Regions from separate parts of the Homo sapiens genome. Here region 2 is linked to region 1. Evidence: promoter capture Hi-C in human tissues and cell types (Jung and others, 2019). All regions are on one chromosome and are shown on one strand. Each heading gives the region's core, a stretch centred on a gene start or on the middle of the fragment in contact. The rest is flanking DNA. Distances are from core to core; before and after follow the strand shown. Region 1 holds the start of SLC26A9 (solute carrier family 26 member 9). Region 2 holds the start of LOC124900423 (small nucleolar RNA SNORA72).

Region 1 (7,955 bases), core at 1,582-4,081:
CTGAGCTGCTATGGCTGTTAATGTGTCCTTGGCTCCTTTCTCTGTTTCTGAGTCTTTGTCTCCATCATTTTTCTCTGTGTTTCTATTTCTGTCACCTATCTCTCCATATCTTTGTGTTCCCTCCACCAACCCTAAATTTGTCCACACTTTAATTCTACCCAAGATACCCCTAAGATGCCTTTTCAGCCATCGGGGCACTCCCCCTTCTGTCTTCTGTTTCCCTAGCCTCTGATCTGGTTTCCTCCTTCCTGGGCCTCCCACCAATGACCAGCCCCAGATTCTGAGGCCCCTGTCCATCTTCCTTGGTGACTTCAGAGGAATCTCTGGGTTCGTCTATCCCTACTGCCCCTATAATGCAAGGGCTACCTGCCCAGAATTTTGCTGAGACAGTAGAAAAGTTTTGAGGAGGACAAACAACAAGTTTCCAATTCCAGCATGTATCCTGGAGGCCCCAGACGTCTTCATCCAGGTTACATTAGGAGTTATACCAGCAAGGGAGCCTAATGGTATCTAAAAGGTATGGTCTTTTGTAGGATCTCATCCTTAGCTTCGCAGGCTCAAAGGTTAAGATGATATCGTAGACTAAGCAGAGGATTTGAAGCCATTTTAGCCAAGTTAGATTCCTGCCTCTTCCATTCAGATCTTTGTGATCTTGGATAAGTGATTTCACTTCAGTCAACTCAGTTTTCTCATCAAAAAATGACAGTAACATGCCTATATGTTTGGTATAAGAATTAAACCAAATCACCTGTGGGAAAACCAAGTGTTACTGTGGAAACTAGGTCAGACTCAGGGGATACTAACTCACATTAATAAAACTCACACTGGACCAATGGGTAGCCCAGAATGTCCATGGGTCATTTAAAAGAGAAGCATGCCTGCAAAAGCAGCCCTAGTCGCTCCAACCAGCTGGGCAGTGCATTCTCTGCCCTAAAGGACATACAACCAGAAGATTCCCTGGTGGACATGGTGTCTCAGCAAGGGGACTTAGTTGTTTGATCTTGATAGCCACTGTCACCTGGCTATCGGAAGAACATAATGACTCATCTGCTTTCTAGGAATTTCCTGGGCAAAGTTTAGAACAGGTCAGGCTACCCATGACACTGGACAATACTGAAGATGCATGGACAAATTCTCGCCCTCTGGCTTTGCTTTGTTTAAAGACTCTATCATACAATTGTTCATTCATTCCTCAAATCTATATTGAGCTCCTCCTAAGTGCCGGGCACTGGGCTAGGTGGGTAGGGATACAAAAGAGGCACTGCCCCCTTGCCCTCCTCAGGGAGTTCACGGTGTTTGCAGAAAGACTGACAATTCCATACATAATTACCATTAATTGTGGTCAGTGTTATGAGAGTGAAGCAGAGGAAGCCAGAGGAACGAATGTGCAACATGTCAGCTAAGTCCACATAGGGGTCTGGGGAAGGGCTCCCCGAGGCAGTGTCCATGCACACATCCTTCCCTCAGCCAGGTGTCAGGGCACACTTGGGTCACTTGAATTCTGGCTCTCTTCAGCCAGTTGTCTGGCTACACCCTGACAACTCTGAGTGACCTCGGGTGTTTCCCTAGTCCCCACAAGCAATGCATCTACAAACTATCCCTTGGGTTGGGCTTGCAGACAATTCACTCTTTCATTCATTTAACAAATATTTATTGAGTCCCTATTAAGTACTGAAGCTAGCTCATTTCACCATGGGGAACTTTCGCCCCAACTTCCAGAGGTGCCTTACTGAAGCCCCCTGCACTGATTCCAGCCCACTTCAGAGCCTCTGGTTTCTTTTGGAGAGATGGGAGGACAGTTGAGGACGAGGACAGTGCAGCACTTGATGTCTCAAAGAATGGGCACCTGGTGTCGGGTAGTGACTCTCCCTCCCAGGAAGTAAATTAAGAAACTCCCCTACCCACCCTCCCAGCCCCTGTCCACAATTGCTTTCTGAGGTCCTTCCGTAGCACTCAATGGGCCTGGGATGGGCAGCTCTGCTGGCAGCAGCCGGAGCAGTGCCATGACCCAGGGAGACATTAATTCCTAGAAGCGGCAGAGGGCTGTGACTGGAGATTTGCTAGCCTTCAGGTCGCCTCTCATATAATTGTTCTAAGTCCAGTTTCTTGAGCTCTTTTATCAGATTCTAAACCCCTGTGTTCTCTTTGCACACTACCTGAGGGGCCAGGAATAATTTCCCCCATTGCACTGATGGATAGACCAAGGCACAGAGCTCACAAGCAACTTAACATTGGGGACAGAACTGGGAACCAGGTCTCCACCACAAACCAAAACCGCCTAAAGGCTCCCAGGGCCTCCCAGACATGGTTCTTCCCCTTCCTCAGGGGTGTTCAGAGGACTACTGTCTTCCCACCCCCTAGATCTCCAATCTTCAAAGCAAGCATCCCCAAGAGCACACCCCTCAGGTGGCCTCAATAGCTCCCATTGTCCAAGAGGCTCTTTGGCCTGACCCCCAGCCCCATAAGCAGCAGGACAGCAAGCTCAGAGGAGCTTGTCCTGCCTTGTCCCCCTCCTCTGCCTCGTCCCCCTCCTCCAGGGCCGCCTTGGGGGAGCCGGTGGGGCAGGAGCCCCGCTGAATGTGACCTATTGTCTTCGGGGTGGATTTAGGAAGTGCCAAGCTCCCATCACACAGCCCTGCTCCCCAGGTAAAACAAAAAAAGGGCTGTTCATTTGGGACCTTTTCCCCCTTATCTCCTTTTCCTATCTCCTCAGGCTTAGCTATGGTGTAGTGTTCAAAACCACTTCCCCTCTGAGCCAATCAGAAGCCGGGGCTCACCCCGTGGCCCTGAGGAAAAGTTATTTATAAACGCCTCCCTGGATTATTTGAGCAGAGCCCTTTCACACACCTCAGGAACACCTTTCGGCTGCCCGCTCCCCAGACACACCTGCAGCCCTGCCCAGCCGGCTTTGCTCACCCACTGGTAAGCCCCACCCAGCCCAGCCCACCCCACTGGGCTGGGGTCATCCCTGCAAGAGGGCAGTCACCAGGGGTACCGAGAGGAGGGATGACAGGAACCAACTGCCAAGCTGAGCACAAGTAGGAAGGACACTCTGGCCCCTGGAGTCTGAGAGCAGCCTCCCAGCCCTTCCCCTCTGAGGAGCCCTTTGGGTCTTCACGTCTATGTAAGGACCTGGGCTGCAAGGCTGGGCTTGACTGAGGGAGCAAGTAGGGTGAGGGTGTGGTGGTCGCCAGACCCCGAAACAGAGCGAGGCAAAGGCCTCCGAGGGAAAGGAAAATGTTAGACCTTCCTCCGCGACAGCCTTTGAAGCTGTGGGCTGCTCCTCTCCCTTTCTTTTCAAGTCTTGGAGGGAAAAGCTCTTAATGCTTGACTCACCAGCCTACTCTGCATGGCTGTCTCCCCCTCCTTCTACCGCCCAGACATCCTCCTTCACTCATGTACTTCTCCACCAGCTCGGGGAACTTAGCATGGACTACACAGAATCCCATGTGTCCCCATTAGTCCTGAGAAGTTGGAAGAGGTGGAGGGGGAGGAAACTGAGGAGTGGGAGAGGGTGAGCAAGGGACCAGCTCCATCAGGCAGGCGGGTGGGCGGTAGCTGGACCTGGGACGCCCGACTCAATGGTGAATGCTTCAACACAGAAGGGCTTGGGCCAGGACAGTGGATGGGCAGCCAGCTCTCCAGGCTCTCAGCCTCCAAACCCCTCATCCTGCAGCTCCAAGGGGTTCCAAGCCACTCTCAGGCAGTGCCCCCATTCCTCAAAACCAGCCCAGAGGGTCCCCAGCTGAGACCTAACAAAGCTTCTATTATTCCAGCATCAACTGCCCCCTTACACTTGGCCCCACGGGTCTGAGGACCAGAAGACCCTGGAGTGACGCAGCCCCCCAAGTGGGCAGACTGAGAGAGGGCTTTCCCCCTGAGTGGCTTCACTCATGCAGATGACCCTTTCTCAGAACCCCACAGTCCTCCCCCACCTCCCTCATCCTGGCCCTGGCATCCAGAACCTGGCAAGACCCTGCTTGGGCAGCATGGAGACCAGCATGGCCAAGAGCACCTCCACTGCCAGGAAGGCCTTCCCAGGCACTTCCCAGAGCTAGCCACCTGCTCTCTGAGTCTCATTTGTATAAACCCTGGGGCAGAGACGGACTCCTCTTTATCTTTTAATGCCCAGAGTCTTCCGGAGATTGGCATATACCCAGTATTCAAGAGTGCCTCTTAAACCGTACTAAACAGCCAGACTGACCCCCGTGAACTTGCTGGGGGAATCGAGGACCAGCTCAACACTGACCAAGCTTTGGGGGCTGTGGGGTCACTACTTGGAAGATGGAAGGGGCAGAGCCACCCCTTCAAGGGGAGTTGATCTTCACTGGATGCCTCTCTGGGCTTTCGCCTGGATTTCTGGGACCAGAGCAGCTGGGCCCTTCACTGGTCTCCTTGCCCAGGCCCTGCTTCCAAGTGAAAGCAACCCCAGTCTCCTTAAAGACTTCTAGGAATTTAACCTCAAGTGCCCATTCCAGGGAGCCCATGACCTTGTCAGTCTTGCTGTTAGGAAGTGATTCTCAAAGTCTAGCCTTGGTCCCTCTTTCTGGAGCCTATTTCCTCAGCCCAGCACCCATTCCCAGCAGGGAAAGTGCAGAGGAGGGAGAGTTCGCCTGGAGATAAGGAGTGGGGATTTGGGGGGTGGTATCAGTGAATCTCTCTCCTACACGGGATGCAGTCTCTAAGACACCTTAGGGACATCTCATCCTCCCCTACACTGAGGAGGAAATTAGGCTGGGGTGAGGAGTAGGGAGAGATTTGCCCTGGAAACACAGGGACAGTAGAAGGAAAAGGAGTGTTTAAAAATGCCTTGGGGGGCTGGGCGCAGTGGCTCAGCCTGTAATCTCAGCACTTTGGGAGGCCAAGGAGGGCAGATCACTTGAGGTCAGGAGTTCGAGACCAGGCTGGCCAACATGGCGAAACCCCGTCTCTACTAAAAATATAAAAAATATTAGCTGGGTGTCATGGCGCGCACCAGTAATCCCAGCTCCTAGGGAGGCTGAGGCAGGAGAATTGCTTGAACCCAGGAAGTGCACCCTGTGGTGAGCCAAGATCGTGCCACTGCACTCCAGCCTGGGTGACAGAGGGAGACTCCACCTCAAAAAACAAAAACAAAAAAACAAAACAAACAAACAAAAAAGCCTTAGGGGTGCAGAGGCCTCTACATCCTTCCTCCTCCTGCCATGGATGTGGTCTCCCACTGAGACCCCAGCCAGCTTGTCTGTCCCAGCTCACATTCACACCTGGGTCACTCAGAGGCTGCTCTTACCCTGTGGCCCCCACCCTGGATGAGGCAGGGAGGCAACCAGCAGCTAGAGCAAAGGGGAAACCTCAAGGTGACCTTTCCTCTTCCCAGAACACAGCAACCGGCTGGCTAGGAACCAGTGATAAGGATGCCAGGGTGGGTTGGCCCAGCCGGGGCTGTTCCCGTACCTGGCACACATGCGTCAAAAACCCCCTCCCTCACATGCACACCCCCGACAGGACTGAGGGAGGAAGTCAGCCTGGCCCACAGTGACAGGATCACCTCCAGATCCAACCAAAACCCACAAATGGACCCCTCACAGTCCTGCTCTGCAGATGTTCTACCCTCTTCTGACAAGATTTTCTGCTGTTCCTCTCATCAAGTCCTGGGAAAATTTGGAGGGGTTAAGGCATGGGGCAGCAGGTATAGGGGCAGATGGAAAAAGGCAAGCCAAAAAAAGGCAGAGTGCCCACTAGAGATGGCAGAGCAAGAAAGAGGCTCCTCTGGAGTCATAGCAGTAATGATGATAGTTGGAGTTTATTGCATGCTTCCCATGGCCAGGTGCCGTTCCGAGCCTTTCAGTGCATCCACTCGGGCACTGTCTCTGCCTGAGCCCATCTCTGCCCAAGCCCATCTCTGCCTACAATATTTGGATGGTGTTGACAGAGACCTGGTTAGAAATGTGACTGGGAGAAGGTACCAGGGGCGTGCTTTGGCATGAGCTCATTGGAGGAGAAATCCTGGAGAATCTCAAGAGGGAATCTGCTCCAGCCTGTGCCCTCCCTGCAGGGTCTATTTTCTCTTTGCTTCCCCTCTCCCAGCTACTCCGGCTCGCACGACCCCTGCATCCCCTCTGCTCCAGATTTGACCCACTCTCCTGCCAGTGCATGGGAGTGGCCCATGCACCCACATCTCCTGCCCTCTGCTCTCCTGGCTCACCCCCTACTCCCCTTAAACCCTACAGACCCCCTCTAAGTCCCTCCAGCTCTTTAGGACCTGCCCCCCTTCCCTGCACAGTGGAGGAGGGGCAGGGTCACCCTTTTGTTTCTCAGTATTATCACATGGCACCTGCTATTTATCCCTGGCCCGGTAGGGGGATGGAAGGCAGTGGAGGGGTGGTGGGGGCAGGGCTTGTAGATACACGCCTCTGGCAATAGGGCACTTGACTTTTTTTTCCAGCGATGCTGACATCACTTATCATGGCTGTTTGTTTGTTTAACTGGGGATCAGATTGTTATGTTCCCTATACCTGGCTCTCTTTCTTGCTCCCTCTTCCACTTTCCTGCCCCTAATGTAGCATCTGGCATCGTGAGACACCCTCTCTGAGGATTCCCTGGGACTCCCATCCCTGCTAGTTCTCTGAGACTCCTCCTCCCCACCATGCCACCCACCCTTTTCCACCACTCCCATCCCCCTTCCCTCCACCTCTTGCCCTCACCTGAAGGGCTGGCTGGGGATGAAGTACCCTTGTCTTCTACGTCCCACCCCACCTCAACCCCTATTCTTGGAATTAGGAAGTATGTTGAGGGCGCCTTCTCAGCAGGAGCTGGGGCAGTTCCTGTGGCTGCAGATTTGCAACTCTGGCCATCATATTCTTGGGAAACCAAGGCCAGGAGGGAACCAGAGCCCTCAAGAGGAGTAACAGAACCCAGAGGTCCTGTCCCATCAGCTGGGGTGGCAAGGTCACCAGGGTGGTCAGAAAGGGGCATTCTGAGTGCCACTCAGGGGAAAACATTGTCCTGAGATCAGCTTTGTCCCTGGAAGGTCTGAAGCCCCTTCGAATAGGAACACTGGAGTTAAATCAAGTGCAGTTTCTTTATCTGCAAAATGAGACAATTGGACAAATGTGGTCCTCAAGTTCTCTTCTACACAAAACTTTCTGACTCTGACTGGCTGCTGGGTTCTCCTCTTTATGCAAACTCAGGATTGTGAAAGCTCCCAGAGCCTTCTCCCCTTCAGCATCCTATTCCTGGGATGGGCAGATGGCATGGGAAAGAGACAGATTTGGTATTCCAGTAAAGCAAGGGAGGCTTTTCCTCTGTTAGCCTGTGTCAGAGGGGACTCCCTAGTATCTGGTGCTCCATCTGTCAGTGAGTCTGCCCAGAGGGGCAGAGCTGGTCCTGAGTCACCTACCTGTTGCTCTCTGAAGGACTTCCACCACCCCTGCCGCTTTCCTCCCAAAGAAAAATGGCCAAAGCCAACACTAGTGTACAGGCTGGAGGGGTGCACATGGAGATCCTGGGAGAAAGAGAAATCCTTCAGGGTTTCAAGGTGGTCAGGAAAGGCTTCATAGGCAAGAAGGAGAAGGGAAAAGAGTGGGAGAGGAAGGAGAGGGTTGGAGGAGGAACTTCAACAGGTCTTAAGGATGGGCAGATCTAGAAAGGCAGAAATGAGTCAGGGCACCTCAGGTAAGGAGGAAAGTGGGAACAGAGACTCAGGCTTGTTTGGTGGGTGCAGAACAGACCAGCCCAGATGGTGTGGAGGGACCCAGCCAACAGATTTCCTGAATCCACCAATACAAGGCCAGAGGATAAAAAAACAAAAATGCCAAAATAAGGAGTTTGGGCCTCATCCTCCTGGAAATGAGGGAGATAGAGGTTTCGGAGCAGGGAGTTTAGGCTGGGTTGGAGGGGCATGGCTGGAGACCAGCAGATCAATTTTTGCAATAGTCCAAACATGAGATAAGACTTGAAGAGGGAGGCAATGGGAC
Region 2 (7,955 bases), core at 1,929-4,428, 210 kb after region 1:
ATTTTTAGTGGAGATGGGGTTTCACCATGTTGGCCAGGCTGGTCTTGAACTCCTGACTTCAGGTGATCCACCCACCTTGGCCTCCCAAAGTGCTGGGATTACAGGCGTGAGCCACCAAGCCCGGCCTGAACCAAATTATTATGAGTCATTATGAGTCATCATGAATGGCCCTTGTTATCACAGATCTTTTATTTATTTATTTTATCTTTTCCCTCTTTAGCATTTATGGATGACTATATTTGTTTCTGACTGGTTGCCCTTAATAAGGCAGAATTGCTTCTATATTCATATTTTGCTTTACACTGATTTTATGGTATTTGTGATAAATGGCATATGAGATCATTCTGGCTGTTTTCAGATCATTGAAAGTTAAAATACTTCATATTTCAACGGAAGGGATAGTCTTTCAATTTAATTTTAAAATTTAATTGTTTATATAATGCCAATATAGTCTACATGGCATTTCTGTAGTTCTGTTTGTTGAAAAGTAGGATAGAAAAATATGTACTAAATAAAAAGTATCCTTTTTAGTGTCTTAGGTTTAAAGTAACAAGTTACAGGCCAGGCCTGGTGGCTCACACCTGTAATCCCAGCATTTTGGGAGATTAAGGTGAGAGGATTGCTTGAGGCCAGGAGTTTGAGACCAGCATGGGAAACATAGAAAGGCCCCGTCTCTACAAAAAAAAAAAATTGTTTTTAATTAGCCAGGCATGGTGGCTGTGTGCCTTTCTGTAGTTCCACAAGCTAAGGTGGGAGGATCACTTGAGCTCAGGAGTTGGAGACTGCAGTGAGCTATGACTGCCACTGCACTCCAGCCTGGATGACAGAACAAGACCCTGTCTCAATTGTTGGATGGATGGATGGGTGGACGGACAGATGGAAGATAGGTAGGTAGGTCTGTCTAGATAGATACAGATAGATATACAGGGAAGGAGGAGGAGATTAAGTTTTCTTCTGTTGTGGAGGGCAGTTAATTTTTAATGACAAATGCCATGAAAAACAGTATTGTGATCATAATGCAATATGATCATTTGCAGTGACCATTTTCTATATTATATTTTAATATAATGCCTGCCATTTATGTTATTTATTAAATATTTTATTTATTATTTAATTTATTATTTAAACATTTAATTTTATAGAATATCTTTTAGATCTGTCAAGCAATTTAGGTTATCAGTTCCAACAGAGGAAGAACTAAGGCCCAGAGAAATTACATGATTTTCTTGACATTCTAGAACCAGAACCCAGGATTCCTAGTACAAAGAGTCCATACTAATTCCTTTCTTGAGTGTTTCTAGTGATAGAGTAAGGAAGTAGCCATTGTTAGCAGACAGTTAAAGCTCTTTATGTTGAACCTACACTTAATGTGATTGCTAAAGCTAAGCTGTACCTCTACTACTCCTTTCACATCAAAGCCCTAAAGTAGCTAACATGTTTTCCCATTTTACAAGTTAAATATTCTCAATTTATTCATTTGTTCTTCATATGATATACCGTTTACCATTCTGGTTGTCCATCCTTATGTAGTTTCATAGGATATATCCATTGCTACGTCGTACCCAGAAATGGGGTAATAATATGTTAGTTGCCACCCCACAAGCATGGGATAAGCTAGAATTATACCTACAAGTTCGGAACCTGTATTTTAATTATTAGAGGATAAGATGTAAGAGTTCCTCTTCTAGATACCTTTCTTCCCCTGGTTCTATGACCCATTTTTTTTATCCTAAATAATACAGAAAATGGTCGTGTTTGCATTATGATCATCATACTATTTTTCATGGCATTTGTCATTAAAAAATCACTGTTTTGCCAGAACATGGCAGGCATTTCCATAGTAGCCCAAAAATATTAGATTTTTTCATAGTCATATTTTTAAGAAAGAAAATATATTTTTATTGTAATAAAATATGCTTAGCATAAAATTTACCATCTTAACTTTTTTTTTTTTTTTTGAGACAGAGTCTTGCTCTGTTGCCAGGCTGGAGTGCAGTGGTGCGATCCCTGCTCACTGCAACCTCTGTCTCCCAGGTTCAAGCAATTCTCCTGCATCAGTCTCCCAAGTAGCTGGCACTACAGGCACGCACCACCACGCCCAGCTAATTTTTGTACTTTTACTAGAGACGGGTTTTCACCATGTTGGCCAGGATGGTCTCGATCTTTTGACCTCATGATCCGCCCACCTTGGCCTCCCAAAGTGCTGGGATTACAGGCATGAGCCACTGTGCCCGGCCCATGTTAACCATTTTTAAGTGTATAGTTCAGTATTGTTAAGTACTTGACATTGTTGTAAAGAACTCTTAATCTTGCAAAACTGAAACTAAACCCACTAAACAACAGCTCCTCATCCCCACTCTTCCAGCCTCTGGCAACCACCACTCTACTTTCTGTCTCTCTGAATTCATCTACTCTAGGTCCCTCATGTACATGGAATTAATAGTCATATTTAAAGTTAGCTTTCCTAATAATATAGTATCTTTGGTAATATAAACTCAGCTTCTTACAATAAAATATATAGTTGGAGTATATTTTATAGTTTTGTTAAACTAAAGAAAAACAGAAGGTGGAACTCCTTAAGAGCCTTGTTTTTTCTCTTTCTAATGCTGAGTATGTAACTATATATTCCTCTACATATAAGCCCAAGCCTTTTTTTCCAGAATTCACCTCCATCCATACCATCTCCACATACTATACTAGAAGGTGGACCAGTGTTTGCAGTCTGACCATCCTGTCTTTGAATTTAAATGGTGTCTTAATCTATACAGCCAAGAATATCCCTCTGCTCAGGTTTAAGTATAGGTGGTAATGTATATTTATCTTAAATTTTTTTTTTTTTTTTGAGACGGAGTCTCTCTCTTTCGCCCAGGCTGGAGTGCAGTGGCGTGATGTTGGCTCACTCACTGCGAGCTCTGCCTCCCGGGTTCAAGCCATTCTCCTGCCTCAGCCTCCCGAGTAGCTGGGACTACAGGCGCCCGCCACCACACCCAGCTAATTTTTTAGTATTTTTAGTGGAGACGGGGTTTCACCACGTTGGCCAGGATGGTCTCAATCTCCTGACCTCGTGATCTGCCCGCCTCGGCCTCCCAAAGTGGTGAAATTATAGGCGTGAGCCACTGCGCCTGGCCTATTTCTCTTAATTTTTTAAGTTCACTTGATCAATTTAGGCCTACAGTAACAGTGCATTTTTTAATCTAAGGCTCTTTTGCCAGGTAGGCTGTTTGGGTACTAACATGGAAGCTTACATGTATATCTCTAGAGAAGAAGTATTAAACTTTTAGATTTAGAGTGCAGAGTACAAAAATAGAAATGAAGATTTGTTTGAGATGTTAAAGATACGTTACTTGATAGGGAGTACTTAAAGTCATTTAGAGTCAAATAGATTCTGCAGATATTCTCACTGTTTTGATTTTGTAATAGTCAGGACAGGCTAACCATTCACTTTATTAAGACCATGCATATATCCCCAGAACTAGTTCTTTCCTGAGGTCTAGTTTTATAAATGTTGCTGATAAACCAGGTCTGTAAAATTGGAAAAGGAAAAAAAAAGTTTAGAAACAAAAGAATAGAGTCAAATACATAGATGTACATAAATCTGTGAGGCTTTCATAGTTTTTTAAATAAAGCATCTTTTGACTGGACCAATTAATTTGTTTCCTTCCCCTTCTGTATAAAGCTTAACATTACCATAATTTTTGTGCATTATAATGTAACTGTACTATACCTAAAAATTGCTTTTGCCTTGAAAAGCTTAGTAATAACCTTGTTTATCAAGTATACATATATATGTGTGTAGCAGTAAGAGTAAAATATCATTTACAACTTTAGCTTATAAATAGGGCATCTTTGTATATAATGAATACATAGGTACATGGTGATTTGGCTCATTTTGCTGTTTTATGTATATTTGTTTTGAGAGACGGGAGATTGTTTTGTAGAAAAGAATGGTATTTGAGACCGGGCACGGTGGCTCACGCCTGTAATCCCAGCACTTTGGGAGGCCAAGACGGGCGGATCACGAGATCAGGGGAGACCAGCCTGGCCAACATGGTGAAACCCCGTCTCTACTAAAGATACAAATATTAGCCAGGCGTGGTGGCACACGCCTGTAATCTCAGCTACTCGGGAGGCTGAAGCAGGAGAATCGCTTGAACTTGGGAGGCAGAGGTTGCAGTGAGCCAAGATCTCGCCATTGCACTCTAGCCTGGGCGACAGGGCAAGACTTCATCTCAAAAAAAAAAAAAGAGAGAGAAAAGAATGGTATTTGAATTATCACTGAGATGAGCAGTATGAGAATTGTAGCTTGACATACTTGTGGTTTATGCTATGCTTTCTTATAACAGAATGTTAAGTACTTAGGCTTAAGTGGGGGCCTTTAAAAAATAATTTTTGGCTGGGTGCAGTGGCTCGTGCCTGTAATCCCAGCACTTCGGGAGGCTGAGGCAGGATGACTACCTGAGCTCAGGAGTTTGAGACCAGCCTGGGCAACACCAGGAGACCCTGTCTCTACAAAAAATGAAAAAAAATTAGCCAGCATGCGTCTGTAGTCCCAGCTACTCAGGAGGCTGAGGCAGGCGGATTACTTGGGCCCAGTAGGTCAAGGTTGCAGTGAGCCATGATTGTGTCACTGCTCTCCAGCCTAGGCGACAGAGTGACACCCTGTCTCAAAAAATTAATTAAATAATTTTCTTTTTTTTTCTTTTCTTTTTTTTTTTTGAGATGGAGTTTCACTTTTGTTGCCCAGGCTGGAGTGCAATGGAGGTATCTCGGCTCACCACAACCTCTGACCCCTGGGTTCAAGTGATTCTCCTACCTCAGCTTCCCAAGTAGCAGGGATTACAGGCATGCACCACCACGCTTGGCTAATTTTGTGTTTTTAGTAGAGACAAGGTTTCTCTATGTTGGTTAGGCTGATCTCAAACTCCCAACCTCAGATGATCCACCAGCCTTGGCCTCCCAAAGTGCTGGGATTACAGGTGTGAGCCACCACGTCCAGCAATTAAATAATTTTCAAAGTGCTAGTTCAGTTCTGTTTATGAAAGAGAAATGTGTGTTCTGATGTCTTAGAAAAATCCTACAGTTTTATGATTTTAATTAGAGTCTCTTCTTTCTACAGAAATAGGAAGGTTGTTGATTACTCACAGTTTCAGGAATCTGATGATGCAGGTAAGTTTTGTGGTTTCAACAAATTTTAAGTTGGACTGACCAGTGGAGGTTACCAGCTTATATAGTTTTATTATGCTTTTGGAATAAGTTTTACTTTTTTATTTTTAGATCATTTACCAAAACCATGTCATGATCTGTGTCAACCAAAGCAAAAGTTGAACTTACATGGATTTTAACTTTTCCTTGGTAAATCATTGATAATAAACATTAAAAAGCTTTTTTCTTACCTGGTTTTGGAGTCCAAAGTTTAAATGTCCAGTAATTCTGATACAGTGTTCATTGCTTAAAATATCTCCTGCTGTCAGCCAGTCGCCATGGCTCATGCCTGTAATCCCAGCACTTTGGGAGGCCAAGGTGGGCGGACCACTTGAGGTCAAGAGTTCCAGACCATCCTGGCCAACATGGTGAAACCCCATCTCTGCTAAAAATACAAAAATTAGCCGGGAGTGTTGGCATGCACCTGTAATCCCAGCTACTCTGGAGGCTGAGGCAAGAGAATCGCTTGAACTCGGGAGGCGGAGGTTGCAGTGAGCCGAGATGGCGCCACTGCACTCCAGCCTGGGCAACAGAAAGAGACCCTGTCTCAAAAAAAAAAATCCACTACAGCCAGGCGCAGTGGCTCACGCCTATGAATCCCAGCACTTTGCAGGGGAAAAAAAATCTCCTGCTGTTACTACAATAAAACTTGTGCCTTGTATTATGTTTTTACATAATAAAGCAACTAAGATGAGAGTCTGTTTTGTGAAACAACTTATATTTATGAACTAATTCATCAAGGAATGAGTGTTGTATAGCTAAGTCTTAGCCATAAGAGGTTTTTTCAGAGTTGTCTCCTTAATCTCATTACTTTCCAGGTATGTTTACTATTCTTTTTTCTTTCTTTTTATTCTAACTTTTCTTTATAAAGATAATATGTGCCCTTTGGGAAGACTTAGAAAATACTGAAAGATATGAAGAAGAGAAAAAAAATAATATGTAGCACTAATATTTATTAAATGCTTGCTACATGTCAGGAATTGTTTCAAATGTTTGTATTTAATATTTACTTAGAATAATCTGTTAATGTGTGATATACTATTATTATTTCTATTTTGAGTATCTTGTTAATAAAAGGTATTTGAAAAATTCCTATCAATGGTTATATAATATCCCATAATGGAATTTATAATGTTTCTGACCACTTAATAATTGCTGACGCTCCAGACTACTTCCAGCATCTCGCCATCGTGTGTGTGTGTGTGTGCATGTGTGTGTGTGCAAATGGTGCAGTAAACAGTTTTGGAAATAATTTCCTTTTAAGGTAGAGTCATTTTCCTTAGTTTTATAGGGCTTTTGAAATTGGAGATATTTTCTTCAAGTGCAAGATTATGTTGTATTTAATGCTTTAGTTTAAAAGTAATTTGCTTAGTAATAGTAATTGTGTTTACTTCCTAAAATGTTTGTAATATAACCATATTACAATAATTTTCAAATAAGTGTGAAGATGTTGAAATCAAAAGGGGAGGGTATAAAATGATGAGAGAGGTTTAGCTATAGAAAGATGAAATATATATCATAAGGACTAGAGGGTAATATGCAAAAACGAAGTGAAGGTGATAGGACTGCGTTGGGAAATAATTTAGTTTTTTAAAGATGAAAGAAACTATTTGGGAAATCCTGCTCCTCTCACCATTTAAACAGCATGAGAGATAATTATGTCAGTAAATATAGTGGTGATTTTAACATGTAAAAATCATAGTTAATTAAGTTTGAAAAACACTGTTTAGATGAAGATTATGGAAGAGATTCGGGCCCTCCCACTAAGAAAATTCGATCATCTCCCCGAGAAGCTAAAAATAAGAGGCGATCTGGAAAGAATTCACAGGAAGATAGGTAAGAGGCATTGTTTTTCTGTTCCTGCTTACACTGTTACCACTCTGAGATGAGAGCAGTCTCTGATCTCTAAATTGTTGGAATCTCATATACTTTTGAAAAGTACTTACTGTCCACTTAATATTTTGCATATTTCATATTATCTCAGGCTGTGCTCGAGTATACAATTTGTTATCTAAGGTTAATACTGACACTTTCATTGTAGTGATAACAAAAAATAAGTGATATATCTCATTCAGTCACAAATCACTGGCACAATTAATTACAACTAAAGCTTGTAGAATCTTAAGTTGTATAGCCTGCTGCCTTTTGCTGTCTCATAATCAATTCTCCTTTGTTTAAATAATTTAACCATTTTGGAGAGTTTCTTTTCCCTTAGTTTTACAAATGAGTTGTGATTTTAACTATAATTTTGCCTCATAAGACCAGGATATTAGGAGTACATGGTGGCTCATGCTTGTAATCCCAGGACTTTGGGAGGCCTAGGTAGGAGGATCGCTTGAGCCCGGGAGTTTGAGACCAGCCTGGGCAATATAAGGAGACCACATCTCTACATAAAAATTTAAAAATTGGCCGGGAATGGTGGCACTTGCCTGTAGTCCCAGCTACTCAGGAGTCCGAGGCAGGAGGATCCTTTGAGCCCAGGAGTTCAAGGCTGCAGTGAGCTATGATTGCACCACTGCACTCCAGCCTAGGTGACAGAGCCAGGACTGTCTTGGGAAAAAAAAACAACAACAAGACGAGGATATTGTAATTTCTGCCTTGTTAGTAAAGTTATACACACTCTCACACTTGATGTAACATGAACTTGTTACACTTGGTGTAACAAGACCTTCTTGGTGATAATGGTGATTATAGTGATGGTGATGGCTACTGTTTATTATGTGACAATCTCTATTATGTGTTTTACGTACACT

What was found. The method cuts DNA at HindIII sites, captures the fragments that hold promoters and counts their contacts. A contact is called where the count stands out against the background at its distance.
Region 2: a contact is called between a fragment that was not itself captured here and the fragment with the promoter of SLC26A9 in region 1, in 1 of the 25 tissues and cell types used here (dorsolateral prefrontal cortex).

The regions. Positions count from the first base shown.
Region 1 is chr1:205,938,332-205,946,286 of GRCh38, reverse strand. It overlaps SLC26A9 (solute carrier family 26 member 9), which reads left to right and starts at 2,831. Exons shown (of 21, transcript NM_052934.4): 1 at 2,831-2,922. The region is part of intron 2 of SLC26A9-AS1 (SLC26A9 and RAB7B antisense RNA 1); the gene reads right to left. The HindIII fragment of the contact is 4,976 bases long and covers 1-4,007 here.
Region 2 is chr1:205,726,783-205,734,737 of GRCh38, reverse strand. NUCKS1 (nuclear casein kinase and cyclin dependent kinase substrate 1) reads left to right here. Exons shown (of 7, transcript NM_022731.5): 2 at 5,117-5,166; 3 at 6,933-7,038. LOC124900423 (small nucleolar RNA SNORA72) reads left to right here and starts at 3,386; the gene lies at 3,386-3,517. The HindIII fragment of the contact is 6,338 bases long and covers 10-6,347 here.